2 separate regions of the Homo sapiens genome follow, and region 2 is linked to region 1. Evidence: promoter capture Hi-C in human tissues and cell types (Jung and others, 2019). All regions are on one chromosome and are shown on one strand. The core of a region is centred on a gene start or on the middle of the fragment in contact, and the rest is flanking DNA. Distances in the headings are between cores, read along the strand shown.

What was found. Contacts are between HindIII fragments. The study calls those that stand out against the background at their distance.
Region 2: a contact is called between a fragment that was not itself captured here and the fragment with the promoter of KHDRBS2 in region 1, in 1 of the 25 tissues and cell types used here (dorsolateral prefrontal cortex).

Annotation. Positions count from the first base shown.
Region 1 is chr6:62,283,689-62,288,459 of GRCh38, reverse strand. It overlaps KHDRBS2 (KH RNA binding domain containing, signal transduction associated 2), which reads left to right and starts at 2,235. Exons shown (of 9, transcript NM_152688.4): 1 at 2,235-2,602. The coding sequence starts at 2,512. RefSeq lists a silencer at 2,286-2,375. The HindIII fragment of the contact is 10,192 bases long and covers 1-4,771 here.
Region 2 is chr6:61,863,130-61,868,354 of GRCh38, reverse strand. All of the region lies in intron 6 of KHDRBS2 (KH RNA binding domain containing, signal transduction associated 2), which reads left to right. Among named protein-coding and RNA genes, the nearest start is that of KHDRBS2, 420 kb to the left of the region's middle. The HindIII fragment of the contact is 4,552 bases long and covers 1,125-5,225 here.

The sequences.
Region 1 (4,771 bases), core at 986-3,485:
CACCTCTTTTAAGTTTGAAGCATATTTTCCCTTTATATCCCTGTTGCAGACCAGGTGCAGGATGCATGACCCTTCAACTACTAAACATTCTGCACACAGATAAAATAGCAAGAACTTTCTGTATATATACTCAATTCTAAATAATAGCTCCTTTGAAAGTAACATAAGAATCAGAAAGAGATTAAGAAGCACATCCAGAAAGATACCAATACTTTATGGTCCCCTATTACACTTAGAATAAAATCCAAATAATTTTCATTCATCAAATCTTCAGTGTTTGTACACATCAATCCCCCCTCCCTTATTGATTCCATTCTTTCCCATATTACAGTAGTCACATTGACCTCAGTCAATTCCAAAAGACAGCACAGTTCTTTCCACCACAGGGCTTTTTCAGGGGCAAGTTCCCCTGCTTGGAATGTCTTTCTTTGCACATTGTACTCACTTGGTTCATTCTTTTCCATGAGTTTTCACCGTAAATATCAGCTGCTTATCGAGATTGTATGTTTACCCTAGTCAAAAATAAAGAAACTAATGTCTTCCCTTGTATTCTCTTTCTTAACTCCTTGGTTCATTCTTGACCTTTATTGCAGTCAACAATTACCATTCCTCTTGTATACTTGGTTTTATTTATCTTCTCCCATTAGAAAACATCTTTGTGATGACAAGGAATGAATGTGTATGTATCTTATTCACCAATGTTTCTCCAATTTTAAGTACTGTCCCTAGACTCTTTTCAGTATCCAATAAACATTTGTTGAATGCACACATGCACAAATAAATTAAATATATAACACACAGAAAGGTAGGTTGAAGCAGTATATTCTGGATATAAATGGTGCTAATATAGAATTGAATTTTAATCTCAACTTCAGCATTAACTAGACATGAGACGATTTCTCTGTTTTGCCTCAGTTTCCATATTTATACAAACAGAGAAAGTAATACTTGGCTGGCATTTTTCAGAGTGCTTCTGTGAGGACGTATTGAAATAATCAATGTGAGGCACGTTACGTTATTTAAACATTATACAAATAAAAGTTAATCTCCCGAATTTATCTAAAAATTAAAAGGAAAATATTTAAATACAGTAAGATAAGTTGGAAAAATTTCAGCACATTTTATTTGTAGCAAAGTTGGCCCTCATTCTTCCACACCAAAAATAATGGGGGAGAGAAGAATCAGGAAATGACTACTTATGAAACGAGAACCCAAGACTTGGGGAAAGATTGTTTCCTAGCGATTGAGGCATGCAAGTTACATTTTATAGCCGCATTGGTAAAAGAAGGATGGGCTTTGCCTCCACGCTTGGTGATATCATGAGGGTTTAACTTTCCTTTAAATAGAGGTGGGATAATACAAAGTAGCTCAGCAACAGTACCTGGTGAAAGAGACTGGCACATCTAAAACTAGGAGAAAGGGGAAAATTAGAGCAAACGTGGTTACCTATTTTCTAGTCTCTTCTTTCTTCTACATGTCTTCCCAATTCTTTCACAAACTGTGACTAATGAATCATATTGTTTTTGGTTTTTAAATTCAGCCCCTCCCAACCTCCCTTCCACAGATAGGGTCTGGGGAAAGGAGGCACGGATAGGTTACCAGAACTAATTCAATATCCTAATGATTGTACACCTCAATCATGTCTCTGCACAATATTTCTTCGAGCCGCTTTATTTGTTTATCAATGAACATCCTACTGCGTCCCTGAGATGTAGGTCATCGGAAATACCAGCTGCCGATCACATGCAGTCTTCATTGTATTTCCAGACCCAGTGCGCTGCTGATTCCTGCACAACTGGAGTGCGCCTGAGCTGTGTGAGGGAAAGGAGACACCTGTGCCTTAGGGACGCAGGTGAAGTCCCATCTACCTTCCTGAGACTTTCCCTGGCGCTTTTCCACCCTCTCGGGTGGCTCACTTCTCATCTCCATCTCCCCTGTCCACTTGTACTCAGACCTCTCTCTTTAACCTGCGCTTTTCCCGCGCTCTCTCTCCTCTGCGCCTTAGCTGAAGACACAGAGAACTCCACAAAACTGGGCATGCCTAATAGCCAGGGAAGGCTTGGGCGCAAGAAGAAAGCGTTTGCATCTTCCGAGCTCCCTTCCCCTCTGCAGCTGCCTCCTGCCAGTCAGGCCACCCGACTTGCGCTACCGCCCAATGAGAGCCCGCGGCCTTCTGCCAGCGCCCCGCCTCTCCTGGCACCACCACCAATGAGTGGTTGGCGGAGGTGGGCCGCGTCCTGTTCCCGCCTCTCCAGTTAAGGCCGCTGGTGTGAGCCGGGGCTCTGCGCGAGCGAGGGACGACGGAAGGGACGGGCAGGTGTGGGCGCGGGGCCACGCAGCCCGACGGCGGGAGTCGCAGGTGCTGGGTGCATGGGCCAGTGAGGACGCACAGAGATCCCTCGCCGCGCGGAGGAGGAGCAGCGCGGGAGCCAGGCGCTGCCCCAAGACCCTGCCTGCGTCCGAGCGAGCGGAACCTCGCGCTTCGCCCGGGGACAATCCGAAGTCCGCGCTATGGAAGAGGAGAAATATTTGCCTGAGCTGATGGCAGAGAAAGATAGCCTGGATCCATCTTTTGTGCATGCGTCGCGCCTTTTGGCAGAAGGTAGGACTTGCCCCCACAGATGGGCACAAACCGCCGGCTGCCTATCTCACCCGCGGCTTGATTAGGGGAGTGAAGTTGGGGAGGGACTCCTCTCCCCGCCTTCGCAGAAACTGTCCCCCTGAAGATGCTCGCCTTAGAGCTCGGGCGGACAGACCCCGTTCTTGGGGCGGACAGCAGTGCTCCTTCTCCACGTCTTAATTTGGAGAAGACCAAAGCTACGGAGATCTAATGGCAGTGGCGATGTGACCTGTTAGGATCATTGATAGAGAAACCATAAAGTGTATGTAACGCGGTCTACAGGGACATTTTCACTTCGCAGAGGGAAGGGAAAGCAGTTTGGAAGTAAATGGTGATCAATGTAGTGTTCTAAGAGCTTCGTAGCTACAGATCGGTATTTTTATTTTTATTTTTTGCTGCATTTAGGAAGTGATTTTTGATACCCTTTAATCAAAGTCTATCCTATGGAAAGTGTTAGAATTAACCTATGCATTAAACTATGCATGTTCTTATATGTATGTTAATGTGGTAAGTAAAGGCTAAAGTGCTTATACATTTATTTGAAGTGTGATGATTGGGTACTCTGTGAGATATTGGTCCCTGGGAACACTCTATAATTGATCAACTGTTTTACCAAGTGTGCATTTTCTTTTGTGTACCTGTAATGTTAAAGGGGATTTCATTCCTAGAGGAACACATATGTCTTGTTTTTTGCATTGCTTTGAAAGGTTTTTTTTTGAAAAAAGACACATGAACTTTATTAACCGAATTACTCCATTTATGTTATAATAATGCCATCTAAATACTAAAGACACCTATGGTATCTGTAGTTACTTACCCATGCCTTTTTAAAACATCTGCAGATTTTTTTTAGATGAATGCTTCATTAATAATGAATTGCTTCATCATCAAATTGGTTACAATGCAGTTTTGTAGCTAAGTTTGTTATGGACTTACATACAGCAAAAAACTAAAACGGATAACTTCCTCTACCCAAGCTCCTCAGTATTAAAAGATTTTTTTGAGACTTAGTTGTACCAAGGAAGAATAAATTCTGCTCCTCAATATATGATTTAAATAGGCATTAGCTATATTTTTTAATTTATGAATTGTTATTTATATTAACAATGAAGTGTAAGGTATTTTTCTATGTTTAAATACTAAACAATTAGGAAAAGATTTATATTCAAAACATGGAACATGTGAAATAACTAAACTGTTTTCAGGGAAAAAGCTAGTTTTATAGATAAGTGGGAAGGTGAAATACAATTATGCCTACTACTTTCTTGGTTACTGAATGAAAAAAAATATAAATTAAAGTGGAAAAGTAAAGTCAATAAAAACGAACTTTTTTTACTTTCCCAAAAAAGACAACTACATAAAAATAATAGCAAAATAATGTGTTAATAGATGTTTAAGATTGTTTGAAATGATTTAAAAGGCAAGTCTTACCAGTCTTCAGTATCTTTAATATATTTTGAATAGTCTTCAATATATTTTCCAGAATTTTCTTTATGTAGCTTATAATATGTCTTTAAAGTGAAAAAAAAGTTACAAATTGATCATTCTCTCTGACCCGCTAATTGGAGTTCTATTTGAGACAAGTGGCTCAAAGATTAATTCATCAGTCATTAATATGAGTTATTGTACTTGAAGACGGCCAAGCTAAATAAATGCATACAAGAAACTCTTAACAGAGTGCATAAGTATTTCTGTGGCTGGTAAAACAGTCAGAGAATGCACTTGGTTCCTTAACATTTTATCTTTCCTAGGAACTTGATTTCTTGATATAATACTTAGGAACATGTTCTGATGTACCTTGTAATTTGATTTTTTCCCAGCAGGGGGAAGCATGCCCTGCTTTTGTAAAGAATTAGAAGGAAAAGCTCCTAAATAGAGAAAAACATCTAAGTAAGAAACAAAGAGGTTACCCAAATTTCAGAGAAATCAGAATGAGGAAAAGAGAATGGAGGAGGTTATAATAATCTTGGAGTACCTAAAGAGTTATGCAAAAGGGTGCATAGGTTTTATATTAGCTCTCTGTACCTGGGGCTCTTTACATGTGCTAATTAAAGAGTGTAAGATGATTGTTCTTGGAATCTCAATAATCTTAATGTATATTTTATGGTATAGATCTTTCATTATCTTTCCAAAGGCCAGTTGCCAAGATGT
Region 2 (5,225 bases), core at 2,151-4,650, 420 kb after region 1:
GATGGAGTGCCTGGCAGGGAGGGGAGGTCTGCCACCTTTGCTGTTTGGGTGAATTGGTCATTCCAGCCTGTGGGCTTTAGAGTCCAAGATGATGCAGGTGGAGGCAGTTCCCCATCATGGCTTGGCTGCTTTATTGAGGTGTGGCCAGACTGCTTTAAATGGGACCCTATTCCATTCTTCCTCCCTGGGTGGGTCCTCCCAGCCACCCCTGCTTGAGTTACACCTCCTACAGAGTTCTAATTTCTCCCTAGAGTGCTTGGGGGTCGGGGTGGGCTGCCACATTTGCTGTTTGGGCATCTCAGCTGGTCCAGCCTGCAGGCCTTGGAGAGTCCAAGCTGATCAGGGCTGAAGGGATCCCCCAACATAGCACAGCTGCTCTACTAGAACTCAGCCAGGCTGCTTCTTTAAGCTGGTCCCTGATCTCATTTCTCCTGACTAGGGAGAACTCCCAACCCCAACTGGGGTCCCCAGCCACCTCCTACAGGTACGTTTGGGCTGGCAACCAGTCAGTAACCCCCTGGGATGGAGCTCCCAGAGGATGGGGCAGGCGGCCATCTTGGCTGTTTGACAGCCTTCACCAGTGATACCTCCAAGTACTGGAAAAGCTGCGGTGACTAAGGTCTAGAGCAGATGGCCAGCAAACGGCAGCAGCCCTATGGAAGAGTGGACAGACTGTTAAAAGCCAAACAAACAACACAAAAACAAGCAAACAAGCAAACAAAAAACCCCATCCAAAGATCAGCAACATCAAAGATGGAAGGCAGATAAGCCCACAAAGATGAGATAGGATTAGTGCAAAACCACTGAAAACTCAAAAAGTCATAGTGCCGCCTTCCCTCCAAATGACCACACCTCCCTAGCAAGAGTTCAGAACTGGGCTGAGGCTGAGACAGCTGAAATGACAGAAGTAAGTGATAGGGTTTGGCTGTGTCCCCACCGAAATCTCATCTTGAATTCCCACATGTTGTGGAAGGCACATGGTGGGAGGTAATTGAATCATGAGGGGCATGGCTTTTTCATGCTGTTCTCATGATAGTAAGTTTCACGAGATCTCATGGCTTTAGTTCACCTGCACAAGCTCTCTCTTTTTGCCTGCTGCCATACATGTAAGACATGACTTGTTCCTCCTTGCCCTTGGCCATGATTATGAGGCCTCCCCTGGCACGTGGAAGTGTGAATCCATTAAACCTATTTTTCATCCCAGTCTTAGGTACCTCTTTATCAGCACATTGAAAATGGACTAATACAGTAAATTGGTACCAGTAGAGTGGGGCTCTGCTGAAAAGATACCTGAAAATGTGGAAGTGACTTTGGAACTGGGTAACAGGCAGTGGTTGGAACAGTTTGGAGGGCTCAGAAGAAGATAGGAAAATGTGGGAAAGTTTGGAACTTTCTAGAGACTTGTTGAATAGCTTTGTCCAAAATGCTGATAGCGATATCGACAATAAAGTCCAGGCTGAGATTATCTCAGATGGAAATTAGGAACTTGTTGGAAACTGGAGCAAAGGTGACTCTTGTTATGTTTTAGCAAAGAGACTGGCAGCATTTTGCCCCTGCTCTAAATATTTGTGGAACTTTGAACTTGAGAGAGATGATTTAGGGCATTTGGCAGAAGAAATTTCTAAGCAGCAAAGCATTCAAGATGTGACTTTGGTGCTGTTAAAGGCATTCAGATTTATAAGAGAAGCAGAGCACAGAAATTCACAAAAGTTGCAACCTGATAATGTGATAGAAAAGAAAATCCCATTTTCTGAAGAGAAATTTAAGCTGGCTGCAGAAATTTACATAAGTAGTGAGGAGCCAAATGTTAATCACCAAGACAATGTGAAAAAATATCTCCAGAGCATGTCAGAGGTTTTCACAGCAGCCCCTTCCATCACAGGCCCAGAGGGCCAGTGTCCCCATGTTGTGTGCAGCCTAGGGACTTGGTGCCCTGCATCCGAGCTGCTCCAACCATGGCTGAAAGGGGCCGACATAGAGCTCGGACCGTGGCCTCAGAGTGTGCAAGCCTCAAACCTTGGCAGCTTCCACGTGGTGTTGAGACTGCTGGTGCACATTTGTCAAGAATTGGGGCTTGGGAGCCTCCACCTAGATTTCACAGGATGTATGGAAACTCCTGAATGTCCAGGTAGAAGTTTGCCTTAGGGGCAGACTCTCATGAGAACCTCTGCTAAGGCAGTGTGGAAGGGAAATGTGGGGTTGGAGCCCCCACACAGAGTCCCTACAGGGACATTGCCTAGTGGAGCTGTGAGAAGAGGGCCACCAGGAACTGTGAGAAGAGGGCCACCATCCTCCAGAGCCCAGAATAGTAGATCCACCAATAGCTTGTAATGTGCACCTGGAAGCTGGAGACACACAACGCCAGTTAGTGAAAGCAGCTGGGAGGAAGGCTTTACCTTGCAAAGCCACAGGGTTGGAGCTGCTCAAGGCTGTGGGAGCCCACCTCTTGCATCAGCGTGACCTGGATATGAGACATAGAGTCAAAGGAGATCATTTTGGAGCTTTAAGATTAGACTACCCCACCAGATTTTGGACTTGCATGGGGCCTGTAGCCCCTTTGTTTTGGCCAATTTATCCCAGGCTCATAGATGGAAGAGACTTGCCTTGTCTCAGATGAGACTTTGGACTGTGGACTTTTGAGTTAATGCTGAAATGAATTAAGACTTTGGGGGACTGTTGGGAAAGCAGGATTGGTTTTGAAATGTGAGGACATGAGATTTGGGTGGGACGAGGGGTGGATTGATGTGTTTTGGCTGTGTCCCCACCCAGATGCCATCTTGAATTCCCACATGTTGTGGGAAGAACCCAGTGGGAAGTAATTGAATCATGGTGGGAGGTCTTTCCCATGCTGTTTTTGTGACAGTGAATAAGTTTCATGAGATCTGATGGTTTTTATAATGAGGAGTTCCCCTGCTCAAGCTTTCTCTTTTTGCCTGCTGCTATCCATATAAGACATGACTTACTCCTCCTTGCCTTCCACCATGATTGTGAGGCCTCCCCAGCCACATGGAACTGTGAGTCCATTAAAACTTCTTTTTCTTTCCAGTCTCTAGTATATCTTTTTCAGAAGCATGAAAAGAGACTAATATAGTAGGCTTCGGAATGTGAATAAAAATGAACTTTGCTGAACCAAAGGAGCACCTTGTAACCCAATACAAGGATGCTAAGAATCATGATAAAACAATGCAGGTACTGATAGCCAAAACAGTGAGTATAAAGAGGAACATAACTGACCTGACAGAGCCGAAAAACACACTACAAGAACTTCACAATGCAGTCACAAGTATTAATAGCAGAAGAGACCCAGCAGAGGAAAGAATCTCAGAGCTTGAAGACTGTCTGAAATAAGACAGGCAGAAAAGAACAGTTAAAAAGAATGAAAAGGAATGAACAAAACCTCTTAGAAATAAGGGATTATATAAAGAGACCAAATCTACAACTGATTGGTGTACCTGAAAGAGACACCAATCAAGAATGGAAGCAATTGGAGAATGGAAAACATACTTCAGAATATCATCCAGAAGAACTTTCCCAAACTGGCTAGACAGGACAGCATTCAAATTCAGGAAATGCAGAGAACCCCAGTAGGATACTCCATGAGAAGATCATCCCCAAGACACATCATCATCAGATTCTCCAAAGATGAAATGACAGAAAAAATGTTAAGGGCAGCCAGAGAGAAAGGCCAGGTCACCTGCAAAGGGAAGCTTATCAGACTAACAGCAGACCTCTCAAGGAAATCCTAAAAGACAGAAGAGATTGAGGCTAATATTCAAAATTCTTGAAGAAAAGAAATTTCAACTCCAAATTTTATATCCAGCCAAATTAAGCCTCATAAGTAAAGGAGGAATAAGATCCTTTTCAGATAAGCAAATGCTGAGGGAATCCATTGCCACAAGACCTTCCTTACAAGAGACCCTGAAGAAAGGAATGGAAAAATAATTACCAGCCACTACAAAAACATGCTGAAGTATACAGACCAGTGACACTATGAAGCCACCATATGAACAAGTCTGAAAAATAACCACCTTGCATCATGTTGACAGGATCAAATCCACATATAACAATACTATCCTTAAATGTAAATGGCCTAAGTGCCCCAATTAAAAGACACAGAGTGGCAAGCTGGATAAAGAACCAAGACCTGTCAGTATGCTGTCTTCAAGAGACCCATCTCATATTCAAAGAAACACATAGTCTCAAAATAAAGGGAAGGAGAAAAAATGGAAAACAGGAAAAAAGAGGGATCGCAATCCCAGTTTCTGATAAAACAAAGTTTAAATCAACAAAGATCAAAGGAGACAAAGAAGGGAATTACATAACAGTAAGGAGTTCAATTCAACAAAAAAACCTAACTATCTTAAATATATATGCACTCACCCAACACAGGATCACCCACATTCATAAAGCAAGTTCTTAGAGACCTACAAAGAGACTTAGACTACCACACAATAATAGTTGGAGACTTTAACATCCTACTAACAATGTTAGACAGATCATTGAGTCTGAACATTAGCAAAGATATTCAGGACCTGAACTCAGCTCTGGAGCAAGTGGATCTGATAGATATCTATAGAACTCTCCACCCAGAAACAACAGAATATATATTCTTCTCATTGCCAATTGGCACTTACTCTAAAATTGACCACATAATCTGAAGTAAAACACTCCCCAGCAAATGCAGAAGAACTAAAATAGTTAGAAACAGTCTCTTGGATCACAGTACAATCAAATTATAGCTCAAGATTAAGGTATTCACTCAAAACCATTTAACTACATGAACAACCTGCTCTAGAATGACTTTTGGGTAAATAATGAAATTAAGGCAGAAATCAAGAAGTTCTTTGAAACTAATGAGAACAAAGATACAACATACCAGATTCTCTCGGATACAGCAAAAGCAGTGTTAAGAAGGAAATGTATAGTACTGCATGCTCACATCAAAAAGCTAGAAATATCTCAAGTTAATAATCTAACATCACAACTAAAAAAACTAGAGAACCAAGTGCAAAGGCACCCTAACACTGACAGAAGAAAGAAATAACCAAGATCAGAGCTGAACTGAAGGAGATTGAAAGACAAAAAAAAAAAAAAACCCCTTCAAAAGCTCAACAAATGTGGGAGTTGGTTTTTTGAAAAAATAAGGAAAAAGACCACTAGCTGGACTAATAAAGAAGAAAAGAGAGAAGATTCAAATAAAAAGAACCAGAAATGGTAAGGGGGAT